Regions from separate parts of the Homo sapiens genome. Here all the other regions are linked to region 1. The links are contacts of gene promoters, found by promoter capture Hi-C in blood cells and fetal thymus (Javierre and others, 2016). All regions are on one chromosome and are shown on one strand. The core of a region is centred on a gene start or on the middle of the fragment in contact, and the rest is flanking DNA. Distances in the headings are between cores, read along the strand shown. Region 1 holds the start of ENTPD3-AS1 (ENTPD3, EIF1B and MYRIP antisense RNA 1). Region 2 overlaps ULK4 (unc-51 like kinase 4). Region 3 overlaps ULK4 (unc-51 like kinase 4).

What was found. The method cuts DNA at HindIII sites, captures the fragments that hold promoters and counts their contacts. A CHiCAGO score of 5 or more calls a contact.
Region 2: a contact is called between a fragment that was not itself captured here and the fragment with the promoter of ENTPD3-AS1 in region 1, in 3 of 17 cell types (total CD4 T cells, M2 macrophages and M1 macrophages). The highest score is 6.8, in total CD4 T cells.
Region 3: a fragment that was not itself captured here is called in contact with the fragment with the promoter of ENTPD3-AS1 in region 1 in 13 of 17 cell types (M1 macrophages, fetal thymus, total CD4 T cells and 10 more); the score reaches 9.8 in M1 macrophages.

The regions. Positions count from the first base shown.
Region 1 is chr3:40,452,058-40,455,245 of GRCh38, reverse strand. It overlaps ENTPD3-AS1 (ENTPD3, EIF1B and MYRIP antisense RNA 1), which reads left to right and starts at 1,938. Exons shown (of 4, transcript NR_040100.1): 1 at 1,938-2,124. RefSeq lists enhancers at 2,045-2,114, 2,135-2,204. The HindIII fragment of the contact is 7,917 bases long and covers 1-3,132 here.
Region 2 is chr3:41,894,826-41,898,013 of GRCh38, reverse strand. ULK4 (unc-51 like kinase 4) reads left to right here. Exons shown (of 37, transcript NM_017886.4): 15 at 1,011-1,192; 16 at 2,450-2,496. Among named protein-coding and RNA genes, the nearest start is that of ULK4, 66 kb to the left of the region's middle. The HindIII fragment of the contact is 3,983 bases long and covers 1-3,188 here.
Region 3 is chr3:41,875,470-41,878,657 of GRCh38, reverse strand. The region is part of intron 17 of ULK4 (unc-51 like kinase 4); the gene reads left to right. Among named protein-coding and RNA genes, the nearest start is that of ULK4, 85 kb to the left of the region's middle. The HindIII fragment of the contact is 3,624 bases long and covers 1-3,188 here.

The sequences.
Region 1 (3,188 bases), core at 689-3,188:
CCCTGAGACTGCTCTAGCAGCCTCCTAAATTCTGTCTTTAATCTGTTCTCTGCTCAGCAGTTAGAGGGATCTTTTAAGTAAGTAAATCAGATCACATTATTTCCTGTTTTTAACAGTTCGATTGCTTTTCATAATATTTGGAATAAAATCTCAACTTCTTACTCTGGCCTTGTATCATATGCTTTAATACCCAGATACACCTTATGCCATCCCTCCTTCATTGTGTTGAAGCCACACTGGTCTTGAATGGGCCAAGCTCTCTCCTCCTCCATGACCTTTATACATGGTGTCTCTCTTGCCAGGAATGGTCTACCCATTGTTAATACTCATCGTGTAGCAGTGCCAACTTATCTCTTGTATTTTTTCCTAGATATTTTTCTGAGAGTTAACCAGGCTACCACATAAAAAAAGGTTAAGTCCCCACCCTTCTTTTTCTAGCTCACCTTGTTTCCCTCAGAGTTATCACAATTGCAATTGTTTGACTTGTTTTGCTGCCCACGTAGGTGTTGTTTCGTTCCAGTTAGAATAAGTTCCATGAGGGCAGGACCTTTGCTGTCTTTTCTGTTTTATTTTCTCACCTTAGTCTGGTAAGGGGCTCAATAAATAGGTAGTGAATGAATCAGTCTTTAGGTCTTGTTGTCTTGCTTTATAATTTACAAAGCAAAAGATATGAATGAAGAAGAATGTTCATTTTAGCATTTTTTTTGCTACTATCTCCAAACTGGAAATTACCCAAAGGCCCATAAACAAGAGACTGGATAAATTGTGATAACAATCTATAGCAACGGAGTCTACAGCAACTACATGGAACAATGCGGATGAATTTCATAAATAACACTAACAAATAAGCTGACACAATATATCCTGTATGCTTTTATTTATATCAAATTCAAAACAGGCAAAACTAATCTACAGTTCTTATAAGTAATGATCATATTTACCTTTGGTGCAGGCAGCAGTGGCTAAAGGGGAAAAGGGGAGCTTCTGAGCTGCTGGCCATGTTGTTTCTTCATCTGGTGTTAACTACGGGAGTGTGTTATTATTTTTGTTTTAAATTTTTTTAGAGACGGGTCTTGCTATGTTGCCCAGGCTGATCTGGTACTCCTGGCCTCAAGCCATTCTCCTGCCTAAGCCTCCCGAGTAGCTGGGATTAGGGGCACGGGCCACCCCGCCTGGCTGAAGTGTTTGCTTGTGAAAATTCAGAGCCCTATCCATATGGTTTATGCGTTTTCTCACCAAATGTATGTTAACCTAAAAAGTTTTTTTTTAATGCAGTTTCCTGGCTGTACAACCAGAGAACTTTATTTGCAGGTCTGGTGAGGGGCAAGAATCTGCATATAAAAACAAGCTCTCAAACACACTTTGAACTTCCCCGAACACAATTTGAGAAACACTTTGGGACTCCCCCTACAGTTACAGAATTATTTTCTAAAGTACATTATCTTGTTATATCACTCCTGTTTAAAGTTGATTTTTATCCCCTATCTTACAGGATATAGTCCAAACTCCCTAGTCTGGCATTCAAGGCACTCCAAAATCTTACTCCCAAACACCTTCCTAGCTTTTTTCTCCGACCATTCTGCGTCTCTCATTCCTATTTCCCGCAGCATTTCATGCAGCTTGAGCCCCCTGTTTCCTAAAATGTGCTCCCCACAAGCATCTCGAGATCCCCATCCCAGGCAGCCCCAGGCAGTTTTTAAGTTTCTACCAAGCTCCACTATACTGGCAAGGCAACTTTCCCCAAGCAAGTCTTGTTTCCTTCGGAAGGTCGCAGGCGCCCAGGAATGAACAGGATAACTGCTAGTGGCTCCAGATGTCAGAAAACAGATGACCAGATCGAGCACGCGCAGATCTCTGGTTGGTCGGCTGTGTGCCTCCGGAAGGCCCGCCCTGCTCGTCCAATCACGGAGAGGGAGGGCACGTTGAGAGTGATGCCAGGAATCAAGATGGCCGCCTGGGACCGCTCTCAGCCCCTTCGGCCTCTACCTGAAGAGCCACGCCCCGTCTGCTACACCCAACTGATTGGTTCCTCAATCACAGAGAGGAAAGGCAACATGAGGATGACGTCAGTTACAAATATGGCGTTTTGGACGGGCTCGATAGTTTGCTTGGCCTCTACTCAAGGTGCGTCCGGACGTCCAATCACCAAGGGGCGCAGTCGGCTCTTAAATGTGGAGGCAGGGGCCTAGACACTCAGGCTTAGGGGATGTCAGCTGGTACTGTGTACGAGCTGTCCTGTAAACCGTCGCCCGTCCCCTGAAGCCGCGCCCCTCTTCTCTTGCTTGTTGCAAGGGACGGATGTGAAGGGCTGGGCGGGCGTCGAGCTTTGGGTTCTTGCAGTGGGTCATAGACCTGAGGGCACTAGTCCCGCGGCCCAGATGGGGGATGCGAGGGACAGTAGGAGCACGTCCACTTGTCCCACAGTCTCTGCGGTGTCACGAGGCCAGGACTGCCTGCCTGTAACCAGATTGGCCCCTGTATTTGTCAGCTTCAGCTGACTAGATATGTCTCAGTTTTGTTTGTTCAGACACTGGCGATGGGGGCGTCAGTTTAGCAGACAAAATATTTACCTGTAGCCCCAAAGAAAAAGAAACATAAGTCAGTACAAGAATCAAACCAAAAGCTGTGCAGAACCCTGACTTTCTTTCTTGTTCTTAATAACTAACCTTCCAGAGAAGTGACCTAACCCTAGTTATGACCAAATTGACATGGTAGCCATGTGCATAACTACCTGGCAACGTGGACAGGTGCATTTGTATTTAGGAGTGAAAAAATGTTTGTTGTATCAGTTTTTGAAATTTGCAATCTTAGGAACCCTGAAGCTGAGCAAGACTGTTCAAGCCCAGTCAGCCTAAGACCACCAGGGACAAACCTGTAGTCAGCAAAACCAGGTCTATCGATCTTTTTTAATGAGGGAGATTGCACACCAGAGACACCATGGGACATTTTACCAGGGGAAGGAAAATATAAAGTTACAGGATTTTGAGGAAGTGTAAAGTTTAGATGGAACTTAAATGAAGCAGGGTTTTAATAGCCTCAAAACAAAGCAGGACTGTGAAAAAGGGTCAACATCAGGCCTAGACTGCAGAGTGGACCCATTGTCCTGTTTTTTTGAAAACCTTTTCTGAAGCTTTGCAACTGGCTGCTTGTAAATTGAAGCTGTATCTCTGTGTTAAAGTGACTTAGGT
Region 2 (3,188 bases), core at 243-2,742, 1.4 Mb before region 1:
GACTGTGGAGGTGGTGTGGGAGTGGAGATACTTAAGGGATAATTATTACATTTCTGTTGAGCTAATGAAAGTCTTATTTAGGGTGACCATCAGAAATTTTTACATACCTTAAATTGGTTTTTTCGTTTAACAAATTATATTTTAAGCTGTTAAACTCGATTTGGGGAAAATTATTCATCGTGGCTAGAGTAGAATCTATGATTTGAAGTAAATTTAAAATATATTTAGGTTTAAATAAACCAGCTAAGGGTTTATATTGGTCAACTTAATTACTGATAAAAACAAAAAAGAAACTGTGTAGAAGGACGTTTTTGAAAGGCCAAGTGAAGCAAAGTATTATTAATAGTGCTTTCAGTGCCAAGTAGGACTATTTACGCAAACCTAGAGAATTATCACCTGGAAATACTATTTCCCTTTTCTTCTTTGAGTTATTTAGGAGATTATATTTACAATTTATTTTGTCTAAAGATAGAGATCAGCCAAAAATATGTTAATTTTAGGGGGTATCACATTTCCTAGATTTTGCCTTTTTTTTGTATAGGGATTTGGAGGTAGGAATTTCAGGTGATTTTTAGCTATCATGTTATTCTCGTTATTTTTTTTACAATAATTTTATTGGAACTTTTTAAGAACTGTAGGATTTGTGCTTTTCTCAATATTTGAGAGTTGATTTATTTATACAAAGGCTCTTTTGTCTTTTACTCCAGTTGTATTGAACTTTGCATTTTGTTATAGTGTAGGTTGTGGGACAGTTCTGCTTTAGACATCTGCTTTATTTGAAAGTATAGTTTTCCATTGAAGTGGTTAAAAAGTTTCCGTGGATAGATAAAGAGATTAGGAATATAGAAGGACGAATAAAAATAGTGTCATCTTTGGAGTATTTTTGGTTTTGACAGTGTAATGTTTGTCCTCATCTTAGCTGTCGTAATTCTGTGTTTATTTCTTATGTAATGTTTCCAGCAGTTCTTTTTCTCATCATATGTACTTTTATTATTTTCTTTCCATCGCAGTGGATAAGTTATTATTTCTGAAAGATCAAGATTGGAATGACTTTTTGCAACAAGTGTGCTCGCAGATCGACTCCACTGAGAAGAGCATGGGGGCCTCCCGAGCCAAGCTGAATCTCCTTTGCTATTTGTGCGTGGTGGCTGGTCACCAGGAGGTGGCCACCAGGCTCCTCCATTCCCCCCTGGTAAGCCTGTGTGACATGCCTTATGCATTTTAATTTGTGTTTTTATAGAGGCTCAAACAAGTGCTAAAATAACAATTTGATTTAACTACCACAAAAAAACTGATTTATCACGATTTTAGGTTTATGAAAATTATCCTCTGCTTAATCCTTAGGTCCTAAAGTAGATGACAGTAGATGGTGATTTTGAACTTATTTTGTTTGTTTGTTTGTAATACTCAGGTTTCCATTTTATGTTAACTTGTAAGATTTAAAAAAAAATCTGAAATCAGGCTGGGCGTAGTGGCTCATGCCTGTAATCCCAGCACTTTGGGAGGCCAAGGTGGGTGGATCACCTGAGGTCAGGAGTTCGAAACCAGCCTGGCCAACATGGTGAAACCCTGTCTCTACTAAAAGTACAAAATTAGCTGGGTGTGGCAGTGCACTCCTGTAATCCCAGCTACTTGGGAGGCTGAGGCAGGAGAATCACTTGAACCCGGGAGGCAGAGGTTGCAGTGAGCTGAGATCGCACCACAGCACTCCAGCCTGGGCAAAAAAAGTGAAACTCCATCTCAAAAAATAAAAATAAAAAAAAAGTGATATCATAAGACAGACCTTTTACCTTCTCATTAGTGACTGGAATGAACTCCCCATGTGGAATGGGTCGGGGGTGTCGGTTCCTTTACTGGGTCATCTGGTAAACTGCAGGGTTTCTGATGTGACATTGAAGGAAGACATCAATCCTCTAAGACATTTTTTTCCTCTTCCCCTGGGAATATTACTTTTTGGACTGTCTTGGTCTGTTGGTAAGCTCAAGGGAATTTGTCAGAGTTTTTTTGGTTTTTGTTTCTTTTGGCTCATGTTTAAGCATCGATTGGCAGAGTTTTTGAAGTCATCCTCAGAGAGGAATTACAGTGGTTCGGAGGTGTTTTCTATAGTGGTCCCTCATTTGGGAATTGGCTTGAAAAAATTTAAGTTCATTTGCTTCCAGGATAGTATTAAGGTTACTTTTTTTGATAGTTGGTGTGTGTCTATCAGGTAAGGGCAGTCATTTAGCGAATATAAAGTGGTAGGAGAAACTAAAAATACTGTTCTTAGTTTTTATTTTAATCTTATTCGTATACTAGTGCCTTTGTAATTTAGTAAATACCATTTTTGGTGTACAGTGTAAATTTCCTTTGTATAAAGTCCTGAGCTGTTAACTTTGCTGTCATTTTCTGTGTTTTGTGACTTAAACATTTTAATTTTTTCTTTTCTTTACACTTAAATTTCTTATTCTAGTTCCAATTGCTAATCCAGCATTTGCGGATAGCTCCAAACTGGGATATGTAAGTAACGTTTATATTTTAAAAATTATTTTTCATGACTTTATTAAGTAGTTACAGAGCACATATTTATCAAAAGCAGAGTCCTAAATAATTATCATAAATTATTCTGATGTAATGATGACTCTACTCATAGGCAATTTTTATGGGCATTCCAATGATAAATTTTAGAATATTAAAAATAGCCCTTCTCCTAATATTACAAATACAATTCTGGGATTATCTAAGGTACTCCTGGAAACTTTATTAACTGTTATTGTTTTTTTATTTTCTTAGAGACAAGGTCTCTCACTATGTTGCACAGGCTGGTTTTGAACTCCTGGGCTCAAGTGATTCTCCCATCTCTGACTCCCAAAGTGTTAGGATTACAGGTGTGAGCCACTGTGCCTGGCTAACTGTTACTGTTTTGAGTATTGATTATAAAATACTTAAACCCTGATCCCTGTGTATTAATTTAGTTATACTTCCTCGAAGTTTCCCTTGGCCACCCTTATCTTTCCCTCATGTAGCACATAGCTTCCCTAGATGTTATTTACAATCTAATGGGATTATGATTTATAAACTCCCGATGGAAGGAAGTGTCCTTGCTTTTTACAGAAGCAACATACCAGGTGGAGAGCACAGTAGATCAAGTGTTAGAAGGCTCTGGGTTCTGTTTGCCAATAAGACTTGGCCAAATGATTATCTTTTTCTCA
Region 3 (3,188 bases), core at 205-2,704, 1.4 Mb before region 1:
CGATTATTGTCTACATGTAGTAATCCTTTAGAGTTGCAAAATGATAATTTTCTTATTCTGTAATTTCCTTTCTATTTGTAGTTGGAAGTTTTCTTACAGAAGATCTTTCCCTGATCAACTATTTGGTTATCCTTAAAATAGAGTTTGTTTTGCAAGGCAGGATAAATGCTTGATTGTTCCTCTTCATAGGTCAGTTTTCAGAATAAAGAGTTGGTACCTGAGAAATCTCCGTGTCTAGTGAGATTGATTTTATATTGTTAAGAACTTACAGGTGTATATATGTATATGTATATCGTCTAGTCCTTTGCAGTCATTAGTCTTTTTGATGCTTACATTGTTTCATCTCCATCCAGTGGGAGCTCTTTCAAGTTTGCTCCTTTCTCCCTTTGACATGAGCCTACTCCTGTCTCTGACAGCTTGCTGGCTTCTCGGCAGTGAGCTTTCATAGGCTTGTTTCGGGAATAGTCAACCCCTAGTTTTGAAACCACTTCTATAAGGAATCTTGTTTACTTTGTTAGAAGATGTAGTTAGAGAACTCAATCTGGGTTCTCTAGGTTTTTTTTTTTTTTTTTTTTTCCTGGTAGAGCTTTTCAGAGGTTAGATCTAGGTACTATTGTTTCTTAAAAAGAGAAAAATTCACAGTTTATTCTGCTTTTCCAATTCAGATTTTTTTATTGAGACAGAGTTTTGCTCTTGTTGCCCAGGCTGGAGTGCGACGGCGCGATCTCGGCTCACCGCAACCTCTGCCTCCCGGGTTCAAGCGATTCTCCTGCCTTAGCCTCTTGAGTAGCTGAGATTACAGGCATGCACCATCATGCCCGACTAATTTTGTATTTTTAGTAGAGATGGGGTTTCACCATGTTGGCCAGGCTGGTCTCAAACTCCTGACCTCAGGTGATCCACCCACCTTGGCCTCCCAAAGTTCTGGGATTATAGCGGTGAGCCACCACGCCTGGCTCCAATTCAGATTTAAAATTCGTTTTTACCTTTTGATTTACAATTTTTATTTTTCTTCTCATAAGCTAAAATTCCTGGCTGGGGCGGTGGCTCATGCCTGTAATACCAGCACTTTGGGAGCTGAGGTGGGTGGATCACTTGAGTTCAGGCGTTCGAGACCAGCTTGGCCAACATGGCAAAACCCCATCTCTACTAAAAATACAAAAATTAGCCGAGCATAGTGATGCACGCCTGTAATCCTGGCTCCTTGGGAGGCTGGGGCATGAGAATTGCTTGAACCCAGGAGGCGGAGGCTGCTGGGATCGGACCACTGCGCTCCAGCCTAGGCAACAGAGCAAGACTCTGTCTCAAAAAAAAACACTCTTGGCCATTAATAACATTAACATAATTATCTTTTTTTTTAGCTTAGAGTTTAGAATAGTTTAAAAATAGTACACGTATTGTTACTAACAACAAAACTACAAAGTGCATTTTAAGTACTTTTTTTCCCTTGGGATATAACCCACTGGATGATATGTACAGTCAAAACGCTGAGTTTTAAAAGCAATTTATATAATTCTTCACTTTGTACTTTTGTCACCAATATGATATATAGTTACATATGTTTTCAATTTTTTTTAGATATTTAGAGATTACTTTGTACTTTCTTTCTGGTTTGAAAATTATAATTCTTTTTTATTGAAGTGTTGGAAATACATACAAAACATAAATGTATTGCTTAATGAATTATTGCCAAGTGTGAAAACCCAATAAACTGTCACTGGGTCAAGAAACAGAACATTAAGTAGAACATTGCCAGCATACCCGGGGATCCTCTTGTGCTCTCTCCTGATCACTGTTCTCTCCCTTTGTGCCAAAGGAAGTTACCGTAACTTCCAATTCTGTCATGATTTTGCCGGCTTTTGAATTTTGTTTAAATTGAGTCATATGATATGTATACTTTGGTATCTGGCTTCTTTTATTTCATATTATGTTTATGGAATTCATCCTTGTTGCCTGTACCTGTAGTTCATTTTTATTACATGAGTATACTACATCACTGGTGATGGGCATTTGGATTGTTTTCTGTATTTGGCTATTAAAAGCCTTGCACACACATTTTGATGCACTTGCGCAAGCTCTCTGTTGGATATGTGTAGGAATGGAATTGGTAGGTTACAGGATATGTGTGTGTTCAACTTTAGGGGGTAATCTAAACTGTTTTCCAGTAAGGTTGTATAAGTTAAAATGCTTTGACTAATGAAAGAATGTTCAGTGCTCTGTATTCTCATGAATACTTGGTGTTGGCATAAAATCATGTTAAATAAGTATTTACCAGTTTCCTCTTTGTTTTTAACATTAATGGTTATTGAGTTTGGTATGGCATCAGAAGATAGGAGTATTTAATTTTTCTTCCTATCTCTATTAATAGGTGGATTATATTAATGGAATTCCTAAAAATAAATCACCTTTGCATCATTATAAGAAACAACTTGGTGCTCTCTATAATTCACTGTTGGAGTCTCTTTCCTCATGTTTTTTTCTAGAATTGTTCCTCTATTTTTTCTTGCCACATTACATTGATTCTTGGAGAGTCCAGGCTGTTTGTCCTGTTGAATATTCCACATTCCAGATTTGTCTGCTTGCTTTTTTTGGTATTGCTAACTTATTCCTCTAGTCCACACATTTCCTATAAACTGTAGGTTAGGTCTGGACGCTTCATTAGATTTAGGTTGAACCTTTTTTTTTTTTTTTTGGTAAGAACATATCATAGGTGATACTGGGTACTTCATATTTGAACTCATCAGGAAGCATGCAGTGTCAGGTTTTAATAGTTGCACCTACTTTGATCATTTGATTAAAGTAGTGCTGCCAGAGAGCTCCATTGTAAAGGTACATCTTTTCCTTTGCAGTGCCACTTTAGCTCTCATGTGATGTATGCAATAAGAGCATAATATTAAAACTTATATAGATTATAACTGCTGTTTTAACATTTTTCTAAAAAAAAACATTCAGGAAATGTTAATCATTGTATTAATTGTCATTAATTGCCATTGCATTTTCTCTTTATTTTCAACAGATTATTACTATTTTTATTTTTGAGATGCAGTCTCATTGTGTTGTTCAGGCTGGACTACAGTGGCACAATCATAGCTCACTACCTTGGGCTTAAGCCATCTTCCCACCTCAGCCTCCTAACTAGCTAGTACTAGAGGTGCATGCCACCATGGCCAGCTATTTTTTTATTTTTT